2 separate regions of the Homo sapiens genome follow, and region 1 is linked to region 2. The links are contacts of gene promoters, found by promoter capture Hi-C in blood cells and fetal thymus (Javierre and others, 2016). All regions are on one chromosome and are shown on one strand. Each heading gives the region's core, a stretch centred on a gene start or on the middle of the fragment in contact. The rest is flanking DNA. Distances are from core to core; before and after follow the strand shown. Region 1 has its middle 210 kb from the start of ACVR2A. Region 2 holds the start of KYNU (kynureninase).

Evidence for each region. Contacts are between HindIII fragments. The CHiCAGO score rates a contact against its expected background, and 5 or more counts as called.
Region 1: a fragment that was not itself captured here is called in contact with the fragment with the promoter of KYNU in region 2 in 1 of 17 cell types (monocytes); the score reaches 8.8 in monocytes.

What each region holds. Positions count from the first base shown.
Region 1 is chr2:147,628,270-147,634,364 of GRCh38, reverse strand. No RefSeq gene overlaps it. Among named protein-coding and RNA genes, the nearest start is that of ACVR2A, 210 kb to the left of the region's middle. The HindIII fragment of the contact is 717 bases long and covers 3,970-4,686 here.
Region 2 is chr2:142,876,114-142,882,568 of GRCh38, reverse strand. It overlaps KYNU (kynureninase), which reads right to left and starts at 4,905. Exons shown (of 14, transcript NM_003937.3): 1 at 4,833-4,905. The HindIII fragment of the contact is 4,288 bases long and covers 4,830-6,455 here.

The sequences.
Region 1 (6,095 bases), core at 3,079-5,578, 4.8 Mb before region 2:
GGAACAAAATGAAACCAAAGTGGCCTGAGGAAGGTGCTTGCAGGGAGTCAGCTGTGGTACTGACTGAGATGAGAGAGGCAACAGCCTGATGTTATAGCTATAGTAAGAAGCTTGATTTTTATATTAGGTAAAATAGGAGGTCATTGCAATATTTTAAGGAGGAGAGTGATGTGATGTTATTTATGTTTTTAAAAGATAACTGTTTGCTATGAAAGAAGGCCAAGCTTGGATGCAGGAAGGCCACTTAGGAGCTAGTGCAATATTCTAGGAAAGAGATTTCGGTGGCTTGGTTTAGGGTGGCAGCAATGGTGGTGGAGAGAATTGGATGTATTTGAGATATGTTTTGCTCATATAATGTAGAGAATTTACTGACAGATTGAATGTGGGTGGATATTAAAATGATGTCTACATTTTTGGCCTAAGTTTAATGGATAGTGCCATTCACTGAGAGAGGGAGGATTGGAGTAGAATGAAGAGAGGGAATTGGAGGACAACTAGTAGTTCAGTATATGTAAGTTTAGTGTTCATATTATATTTCAAAATTAAGATATCAAGACAGAGTCTTGGGCCCCAAGTAGATGTTAAGCCTGGAGGTAAAACAAGGAGTCATTGGTGGACAGACAATATTTAAAGCAATGAGAATAGATGAGATCATGTAGGGAATGGGTGTAGATAGTAAGAGGAGAGTCCAGCACTGAGCTCCTGGGCACTCCATAATTTGGAGGCTGAGTAAAAGAGAGGTTATGGAAGAGGACTGAGAATGAGTGACCAATGAGGTAAGAACAAAAGCAAAAGAGTGTGGAGTGCTGGAAGCCAAGAGAAGGAAGAGAGTTAAGAAGAGAGAAATTGGTAAATATGTTGACTACTATTGAGAGGTGAATGAGGTGAGAAGATTTTTGTTGACTTTGGCACAGAGAAGATTGTTGGTGAGTTAAAATGAGCAAATTAGTGGAGCTAGATGCTAAATTGCAGAGGATTGAAGAAGGAATGAATGCCGAGTGAAAAAGTAAAGAAGCTATGTGTAGAGAAATTGTAAAAGCAAACAAAGGAATGGACCGATTGGTAGATGGTAGGCATGTGATTCATATGTTTAAGTTGTGATTGTTAACCATTTTTTATAGGGTAAGAGGTTCTAAATCATGTTTTATAGTGATAGGAATAATTCAAGGGAGAGAGGAAGAGAGGGAGGGAGGAAGAAGGAGGAGGAGTAAAAGAAGAAGAGGAAGAAGAAGAAGGGGAAGACTAAATACAAAGTACCCGAGAGCCATGGAATTATGAACACCAGTAGAAAAGAAGGCACTGGGTTTGACTTCGATGGGTGATTAGGATTTGTGAAGACAGAAATCAATGTGAATCTCATTAACAAAGGTGCGTATGTGATAGTTAAGATGGAATCTTGGCGCAAAAAATTAGTAGGATGGATTGGTTGAAGCCATGATTTTATCAGAGAAATCATAAAACTAAAACTTGGATATACCTGATACAATTGGAGAGTTGGAAGGGAAGTTTGCTCAGTGCGGGAGTCTATTCTACCACTGACTCAACAGGTGTCCATCTGGCCTCTGTCTGAAGGTCAGGGCAGATTGCAGAGACCCTAATACCTGAGTCAGCTTTGGGAATTCATTATTTAGGCCACAAAAATCAGGGTGGATTTTAGAGTTTGAAGGGATTTGACCAAAGCAATATTTTAAGCAGCTTCACAAGGAGGAAAGATTTAGGACGAGAGCAACATCATCATCATCACCTGGGAACTTTTCAGAAATGCAAATTTTGGGGCCACATCTCAGACCTCCTGAATTGGATGCACTAGGAGTGGGCCTCAGAAATCTGTTTGAACAAGCCCTCTAGGTGATTCTCATGCATGCTAAATTTGAGAACCATCAGCTGCTAGATAGCAAACATATGGCGAAAGGAAGCCAGATGCCAGAGGGTGAAGGAGTGAATAGGAAGTAAGAAGTGAAGGCAGCTGGAGTGATCACTTTCCCCAGTTAGCTCTGACCTCATTTCCTGGGGTTGTGGTTGGAGAGTGCTCCTTTAGGACCTCTGGATTCTGCTTATTTGGTAGTATCTTGACTTCTGTTTGCCTATACCTCATTTTGTTAATGCATTTTTTCAGTGCTATTGTATTTGTGGTGGTATGAACTCTTTAATTAGAAAGAAAATTTTATTGGTAGAAGAAATGACTTCATTTTTTAAAAGCATTCTTATATACCCAACATGGTGATCGGCATGCCATAGTTTCTTTAAATAAAGACTAATTCACATACTAATGCACCTAGAAACTACAATGTCCCAGCATAATTCTGCCATGGCTATTTAGGAGAAAAATGAAAAAAGAAGAGCCTGAAGCAATAAGGGCCTAAAAGGAAGAGAACTGGATGTGGGAAGATTTAGTGGTCCTAAGAATCTTTGGGAAAAGTTGAGAAGTAGGACTGACAAGAGAGGACTGATGAGAGGTGACTGGTAATTTGGCACAGGTTAGCAAATTAACAGTGCTAGTTCAAGGAGAGGAATCTAAGAAGGCTTTCCCCTTCAACTATTTAGTCTTCACTGCAGAAGAGAACAAACACATTTAATATGAATGTTTTCTATCCCTGCCACTGCTTATCAGCAAGACTTTCCCTTGCTCCAATGTCAACATAGTCAGGCTACTTTTTGACTTGGTTGGCCAGCCATTGATCCATTCAAACCCAAGCTGTTGGCCTCAACCTTTCCTCCTTGGCATCAATTTGATTTATCTCCTAACTTCTGGGTTCCAGGCTCTAGCTGTGAAGTTTCCCACTTCCTTTAGAGTTCAAGACACCTGATTTCCTCTTTTTTTGTAAGGCTATGATTGTTGATCACTTAGGCTGAATGTCTGTATGTGTGCTGGTGGCAGTGGGGAGTGTGTGGCTGAAAGGAAGTAAACAGATCCTGACGGTGCATCAGTTGTTTTCCTCCTTCCATTGTGGTTAGGTGTGTCTCCTGCAGTCCAAGAGGTCAGTCAGGGAAGGAATCACTACATTTCCTAGTCCTTAAATAACTTCTGCCTGAAAGAATTTTTGATTGATGAATTTTATGAGAAAAAAATCTTCAGAAAATGCTTTTGGCAATCTTCAATAGGACAGATGGAAATGTGCCTGGCAGGGTCTGATGTTCTAGGATGAAGTTTCCATCATCTTTTGTCTAGTCACAGAAGGTACTTTGGAGTAAGGAAAGTAAAGCTGAGTTTGATGTGGGCTCATTTGGCTAGGATATGCTAGTCGGACATGCAATTTTTTGGCATGGGTGTCTAAAGTTTTCTGTAGTAAATAGGGATCTTAGTGAACATTTGATAAAGAAAACATAAAACCTCAACAATTGCAGTCATAAAAAGAAAACATTAAAATAGAAATCTAAAATCCATGTGTCTGTAAGAATCTGTACATGTAGACAAAAACGTGTTTATGGGTCAGAGCAGAACCAGAGCCACGACGTAAGGAAAGATCTAGGTTAGATCAACTAAGCAATGAATGCTCCTGGCAGGTTTACTGAGCTTCCGGCTGAGCAAAGGTATTCTGCAGTTTGTATTTTTGATGTGTGTTGTTAACTAATTAAACGCATGCAGCCTTCCTGTGAAGTGAGTCAGTGTTCCTCATTTCACATATGAGGAAACAAGGGCAGAAAGGATAAATGACTTGCCATTTTGCCAGCCAGAAGCATCACCCAGACATATTGCTAGCATTTCCAGTGAGGTTTCAAAGAATGACTTTATATTTCAAATTTAGTTTGGGTTCATGCAAGGCCGCTGAGGTGAAATTTTCAGGTCTCTAAAGCCACTCACTTGGTCCTGCCTGAGAGGTAGATAATGGTCAGTGAGGGTCTACTTGGAAGGTGTGGGGGTTTTAAGTGCTTTTCATGGTGACTTAAATGAGCACTTGTCTTGCTTTCTTACTGTAAACTTTCCACCCCGAGTGCCATTTATGTACTACACAGAACAAAGAGCAAGCTTGCTGGAAAACTAATTAATTCAATAATTGGTGGCAAAGAAACTTGAAAGCTGGCCAGACCAGCAACCTGGTGTGATTTGTAGCAACAGAATAGAAAAATACCTGAGGAATGAGTTCCATGTTTATTTTTTGGGTACTATAATCATTGACAATAAGAGAAGGGGCCATTGAGAACAAACATTATGAATTCAATTTTTCTCATGTGTGGTGGGAGCTTTCTGTGTGGAGTGACCCCCGCATAAGACAGAGCACTCGGAAGTGTGTTGCTAGTAGAGTAGGAAGTAAGCAGAGTGTTATGGGAGAGAAAGACTGCATCAATCCGCAGATATTAGTGAAGAGGGTGTGATTTCTTAAGCAAACGGTGCAGAGAGAGCGCAGAAACCAGAGTCTGCAGATGGTGTGATAGTTAATTTTATGGGTCAACTTTACTGGACCATGGGGTGCCCTGATATTTGGTCAAACATTATTTCTGGGTGTATCTGTTGGGGTGCTTTGGATGAGATCCACATTTGAATCCATAGATTGAGCAAAGCAGATTTTCCTCCCTTATATGGGTGGGCCTCATCCAATCACATGAAGGCCCGAATAGAACAAAAAGGCTAAACCTCCCTTGAGTAAGGGGGGATGCCTCCCACCTCACTGCCTGAGCTGGAACATTGGTCTTTTCCCGCCTTCAGACTCAAACATTGGTTCTTCTTGGTTCTTCAGCTTGCAAGCTTTCTGACTGGAACTTATGCCATTGGCTACCCTGGTTCTCTAGTTTGCTGATTGCCAACTGCAAATCTTGGGGCATTTTAGCCTCTATAATCATATAAGTCAATTCGTTTTAAATCTCTCTCTCTCTTTTTCTATATGTATACACATATATATTCTATTTTATACACACATACATATGCATATATATAGTCTATTGGTTCTGTTTCTCTGGAGAACTCTCATTAATACAGTTGAAAATGGGGTTTTAGGACACATCCAAGATTTTGAAGGATAAGATTTTACCTGTGGGTGGTGGTTGTCAGTGGCAGGAAAAGAGGGCAATGAAAATCCAGTATTAGGTGAGAGAGACATACCAGGAAGATGGGAAAATGTAGACTTGTGGGCAGTGAAAGATTCCAGCTGTGTGCTCCATTCCACAGTCTGTAAGTGTAGAGATTATCACTACTGCATTTTGCCAATGGGAAAGGGAACTAATTAATTAGAGGAAAGGAGGATCTTACAGTATTGGGAAATTTTAAATTTCAATGGAGAAGTTGTCAGAATGTTTCAGAATGAGTCAGAAGGAGCTAAATATTTAGGGGTGCATGGTTTGTGAGCATATGATTCATAGGGGGAATTTTACGTGCTAAAAATATCATTGAGTAAGTGGGTTTTTCTGGTGGTTTTTTTTGGAGTTCAAATTTCCCTTATTAGCAACAAAGCTCTAATATGAAGTGATTATATACTTAGAAAACTATCTTTTAAAGATGAAACTCAAATAATTTTGTAGATGAATTTTAATATGGTAATTTCTTATAATGACCTTTCTTAAATGTACCTTGAGAACAAATATCAGCAGGTGTTGAATGGCTGGATGAAGAGCCTTGTGTCAAGTTCTGAGTAGAGGTTCAGAAAGGAATAAGCAAAGATAGAATCTTTATAATCAAAAGTCCAACTTTCAAGATGTATCAAAATACCTAAAGATTTCTATACCAATTATTCCTCTAAACTCTTTCTAGGGATCGAGCTTACAGTAATAATCCAGAATATGGAAAAAGTCACTGTACAAAGACATTAAGATATTATTAATAAATGTAAAATATAAAAAATTTTGAAAAATAAGAAGCAAGCATTATTCCCATGTCTTGAATAATGTTGAAATAAATTATAGCACACCCACTTAACAGAGTATGCTATTTATATACTATTATGCACCAATAAAATGTTGGCTATGAAGACTATATAATAAATATGGGAAAAGTGTATATATTTGTGTTAAATGGAAAGATTAAGATAATAGCATTTAATAATAAACTAACATTTATTTAGTACCTATTAGCTAATATCTCAATTTTACATTCTTTACATGTTTTAACTCATTTAATTATCACAATCGTACATGGTACGTATTATTATTACTCCCATTTTGCA
Region 2 (6,455 bases), core at 3,656-6,155:
CTCACTCACAGGTGGGAACTGAACAATGAGAACACTTGGACACAGGGCGGGGAACATCACACACCGGAGCCTGTCGTGGAGTGGGGGGATGGGGGAGGAATAGCAGTAGGAGAAATATGTAATGTAAATGACGAGTTAATGGGTGCAGCAAACTGACATGGCACATATATACATATATAACAAACCTACACGTTGTGCACATGTACCCTAGAACTTAAAGTATAATTAAAAAAAAAAAGTTGAAAAGGGAGACCGATTAAGGATAACACAGTAGTTCAGGAGAGAAACGGTGGTGAATTAAATTTGGTGATGAGGGCAAAGGTAGAGAGAAGAGTGTGGATTTATGATGTAGTTTGGAGAAAAAGTAGATAGGACTGGTGGATAGATTATTTCTAGTGAGGACAGGAAAGGAGCTTTCTTCTAGCTTTGGGATATGGGCAAATATGTGAAATATGATGAAATAAAAATACCTGGGGAAGAAAAATTTTGAGGAGGGAAATTGGAATTCAGTTTAGCAGGCTGGTTGTGGTGGTTCACACCTGTTACCCCAGCACTGGGAGGCCGAGGCAGGGGATTGCTTGAAGCCAGGAGTTTGAGACCAGTCTGGACAACGTAGCAAGATGTCATCTCTACAAAAAAAAAAAAAAAAAAAGAAAAAAGAAAAGAAAAGCCAGGTGTGCTGGCACTGGCATGCACCTGTGGTCCTAGCTACCGAGGAGGATGGGGTAGGAGACCAGCAGTCTGAGGTTGCAGTGAGCTAATTGTGCCACTGCACTCCATCCTGGGCAACAGAGCATGACTGTTTAAAAAAAAATTATATTTAGGATATATTAAGTTTCAAATAAGTATTGAACATGCAGGTAGAAATGTCAAGCTGGTCATTGGATATTTGAGTGTATAACTTAGGGGAATATTGGATCACAAGATATGTTTAATATTTCTCAATTCAGACTGTACTTAATGTCTAGAACTTCTGGGGGCCCAAACTCACACAGAACTAAAGCTCTAGAATTCAATTCAATCTCCATTCTTCTGCCTCCCTTCACCTTTTACCTTAACTAACACACACAGTGTTTGGCAATAAAGAGTTGCATATCTGAGTGTTAGATAATGCCAGTAAAACAGACATTCTTCTTACACTCTCGATTTTCATTCTTGTACTTTTTGGGCTTCTTCTTTTCTCAACTGTCGATGGTCTCCACTGATAAGCCATTCTTTATATTCCTAGACAAAGATACCAAGGTTCACCATTGCATGTTTTTTACTTTGATATCAGTTGTGACTCCTAACTGCTTCAATCCATGGTTCTGTACAAAAGTGTAGGATTTCAACATTGATGGATGGTGCTTTCAATATCTGACCATAAGTATTATTTGTCCTCCACATGAAATTTTCTATTTCTGTGATTTTTCTCATGCCATTTCCTTTGCCTAAAATGTTTTGCTCCCCTTCAACTTGTTTGGATTCTAGCCAACCTTCAAAGACCTAATGCTCCAATGCTTTTTTCAAGAGGCCTGTTAGGATGTCTCAGGCAAAAGTAGCCCGTCTTCCTCTGAACACCAATAACAATTAAGAGCACACTTATGTACTTTACTTACGATAATAATACATTCTGCCAGGTACTATATTTATTTGGACATATGTATGGATAGGAAAGATCAAAAACATTTGCTATGCCTGAAACTTGATTCTAAATGGCTCCCCACACATAGCTTTCTGATGAAGGAAACTGCATTTTGAAGAGAGATCACTGTGTCTCTACCGCTTGGCATTATCAATTGCCTGGTCATAGTTTATTAGACCTCTGTTGGACACTTACCCACTAAAGACAATGTAGTTTCATCAAAGATCTGTGAATTATTTGCTATAAAAGCTCTAACCAAACAGTGATGATGTTTAGCTGAGTACATAATCAAATTCTTTCAGGAATCTGAGCTGTGGGATGTGCTTATTCATTCAGTTAGATACAGGAGCTAGAATTTAAAATAATCATAGATAGAAGCTATGAAATGCTAGGGTCTAGGAGGAATACTGTCATAGAATGACTCATTTTTCAAAGTAAAACAGAACCACTGATTGTTAAAGCATGAAAAGCATGAAGTGATTCCAGCAGCAAGTAAGAGTCACTTAGTTACACAATGGCAAGGGATTGAACAGCTATGTCTCCTGAAAAGGTGACAAGACAAGCCCATCTTGCAAGTCACTGAATCCTTCATGCAACATGCTATGTGCAAGTCTCCAGGGGACCCATCTTCTTGGCTATTCCTAAAATTCCATGAGATGTTTTTCTGCCTTACTATCAGATTAGTCTTACTACAAACATATTACTGATGGTAGCTGGACTGAGTTGCTGTTCTACCCTACTGAACTGAACTCTACCTGGGGGCCTGAATCATGTTTAATTTATCTTTATAGACATCTCATTTAGACAGAGTACCCCTGCCGCCAAAGTGGCAGTTCGAGAGAATAAACAAAATTGGTTGATGAATTATTTGACATAATGACATATTACTAGAAGGGCACCCTCTCTCATTCTGACCATATGAGAAAGACTTAGACAAACATTTCTAATGAAATTCAGAATCAAGAGAGCTTGCCTTATATTTGAGACTTTCTTTGGGAGGTCAGCCCTTTGAGTTGATTGGAGGTGACTTTAAACTCTAAGTGGGGTTACTTAAATAAAGAGATTAGTTTGTTACCAACAGATTCTGAATAAAATTCAACTTTCCTTATTTTAAAAATGATACTCATTAGCGTCATTCTATCTGTATCTTATTTAATGCTTGTAATAATCCTGAGGCATCAGAATCCTTTTCCTCTATATTGAGATGAAAACCTGGCACAGACAGAGTAGAAACCAGTGGACTAAAAGGATAGCAGAGTGCACAGTAGGGTACTTAACCATGCCTGAGATGCTGAGTCCATTGTGCTGGTCTTTGGCAAAGCCCATGAATGGAATGCACAGAGCTCAATTCCTCCTCGAAGCCTTGAACCTCTCACTTTATTTTTCCTTGCCTGTTGCTTCCTGATGTGTGTGTGTACGTGTGTGTATTTCTTCAGCTCATTCCCTTTTTCTTTGGCTTCTTTTTTCAGTCCTACACTTAAGCTGCAAAGGACCACAAGCTACGTATGAATTGATTTACCTTTTTAATCCATCCTTCCCAGTCCAGTTTCAGCCAGGCAAAAGTTAAAGTGGCTGGTTCCGCTCCTGGGCCTGTCACATCTGGGGTACCTTGAGATACCTGATGGGCATAGTCTTCCAAATGACTGCACCCTGCCCTACTCCACCACTTGCACAACTTCGCATGGTCTCAAATATAGTCTTTAGTTCCCAGAATAGCATAGTGCACTCACTCTAAGGATGCAATTTATTCACTCATACTAATTGCTGCTTAATTCTGCATTCACCCCAGCAGCTAAGACAATTAGTGTTCACAAGCCATAATGTTATGCCATGTTTAGTTTGCAAATAAAGTGACATGCTCATATTCTGAAAGGAAGAACTTAAATCCAAACTTTTAAAAACTTCAACTTTTACATATTTTACAAATTTTCAAATGTTACATATTTAGTGTTAATTTTATCAAGACGGGGGACATACATACCATATGGTCTCAGACAAATCACCTAACTGCTCTGTATGTCAATGTTATTTAAAGTTAAATTTTACTTTCTTCAAAGGATTATGGTTAAGCTCAAATGACATTAGGTCCTTTATAAAAAGATAAAAGATAGTTTGTAATATTTTTTTAAATTATCAATACCTTCTGATGGACAGCATCAATGTGCCTTCGATTTAGGTTTGGAAATTGTGCTTTCACAATTTTATTTAGACAGCTACAACTTTAAAGTAAAAAGCTTGTATAATAATTAAAAACTGATTGATTTTAACGAAATCACAGAATTCAGAATCTCCTAGTCACCCACTGATTTAGGGCTAAATAGTTAAATAAATGACTGAGTGTCTGGTAGTTAATCTTTACACAGTTTCACATTCATGCCTGAAATAAGCAAATTGTACATAGGAGTTCAAAGTTTAGAACCTGACTTAAAAATATGTTGAGAAAGCGTGTAGTTTTTCATTAGTAAAGAAAAAAGGAAAAACAATATGCATATTGAGCAAGATTCTTTAAGCATATCATTGAGAAATGGGTAACATTACTCTGCTACGAGTGTATATTTCATATCTAGGATATGAATTACTTGCTGAACACGTTAAGAAAATCAATACATTTGCTTCAGTGTTACTACTAAATAACACCCCACTGGCCTCAAAATAAAAGCAGAAAGGAAAAAAGAAAATCTAGTATATTTTTAAAAAGTGTATCAACTTTCTTTTCTTAGGTTTCATAAAATGAAAGGGGAAGAAACTCTGTTCAAGAGTAGGCATTTTCACTTCTCTAAATAAATATTTAATATGACTACTAGCAGCATAAGACAATTAAAGTTACCAGAAAACAGAGGACTTAAAATCTGTTTAAGAATATCTTTCCCTCGTCTGGAGTTTGACCTAATCTTACCGCTTAAACTCAAATAAGAACAGGACTAACTTTGGTTTGTCAAATGTAACCATATTCAGTGCACTATGTTCATCAGTTCTTTTCTATTACATTAGTAAAGATCTTTTCATTTAACCCATTTCTAAAGGTGGGGCCTTTAGGAAGGTCATACCATTTTTATTTACAAAAAGAATATATATAAAAAAAGAAGAGAGTAGCAGAAAAAAACCTCTAAAACACTATGACAAGGATTCTAGCTGACAGAAGTTTCATTTGGAAAAAACATGGAGTAAACATTAGGGTAGAGAGTTTTTATCAGCGCCTCAAGCTTACCAGCTAGGATCCCAATGGAGTGTTTGGCTCCCAGAATCTCTCCAAGAACCTCTCAAGAATTCCTTGAAAATGTACAGGCCAGATCTTAGGGTGAGAAATTCAAAGAACTGCTCAGACTCCACCCAGTGGAGAATTTATAAATATTTTACTTTACTTCCTCTCCCCTAACCAATCGGTAATCTCCAGCCACTGTCAGAAATTTAAGCAACATGTGCTCCTGCCCACCATTTCAAATGCCAGAGCCTCCAGTGAGGGCTTCTTTCCAGAGGCAACTTTGCTCTTTAAACTCAGGTAAACACACACTTGTCCTTTAACTATATAAATCTCTGACCCCTGAACTGATGAGTTGGTCTTAGAGCTAAATTCCAAATTTTGCCTTTCTTCTTCACTTTGAGCTCTGGATTTTTGAGACAATACCCTCCTTCAAATACACTGAGGATTTTCAGTCTGATGGTTGAATCTATGACATTTAATGGGTAAACTTTTTAGTCAAAAGTTTAAAATAGGCTCTCAATTCCAGAATACACTCTATTGCCTAATATGTGAGTTTTCAAAAACTCCTAGGTAATAAATCTGGACAGTTAACAAGACAATGAAGGAAGAAAGATCTGAAGATTCAAGTGGAAACTAGCCTGGCAAACTTCATTAATGCAAATTATTCATTTAAGTCTGTGAATTGTCTTTTGTTCTAGTCTGACTACCTCTTTAGGCTTATTCCTGAGCTTGGGTCTTTTGATGAATATCCTTGTAGTTATAAAAACTAAGAGCAAAGACTTTCGATATTAGGACTAGGGATGAAGAATGTGCTTGAATAATTGAATGACTTATGCACACCTATGCTTTATTTAGTAACCCACAACAAATCAAGTAAAGTGTCATTTAATCATTTCTATCAAGTGTTCATTGTATAACCCTGAGCAATTCACTTAACCCTTGTGGAGGCTCAGTCTCCTATTTATCAAATGAACTTAATAATACCTTCCTCCCAAGATTACTGAAACGATAAAACCATGCAGGTTGAAGGCCATAGATACCATGACACTCAAGTCAAAAGTGACATATTGTCTTTTTTTTAATCTTAAGTAACCAGACAAAAAGTACTACTCTCCAGTTTCCAAGAGAGGGAGATAAAGTGCATGAAATTGCTTTAATACGAGTAATTGACCAGTGAAAATAAAATATATTTCACTTCATTGATCCTATCCTTACAATAATCCTATAAAGTAAGTAGACTACCAATTGATTAACTTAGAATAGTAAAAGTTTGAATCCATTCAGGAAATTTCAGAAGGTGTACTTTTTTTGCATCTATTCTGTGTATGCCTCATGCTGTAAAAACTTTGGAAGATTACCAGGCTCTAATATATGGGGAGCGAACCAGAGGGCGGATCTGTGTCATTTTTGTGTCACTCTTTTAAAGACTGACTATAGATTTAGAGAGCTAGATATGGACATTAAGGTTTTGTTTTCACAAGATCTTGCTTCTTCTAAAATCTTGTAATAATATGATTAAAAATTTCATCAAAATATTATCTTAAAAACTACTGTTTAACTTGTCACCTTTAAAGAACTTGCTTGGAGGTCTAAGCTATACTTCTATTTCTTATGTTTTATAAATTTCTT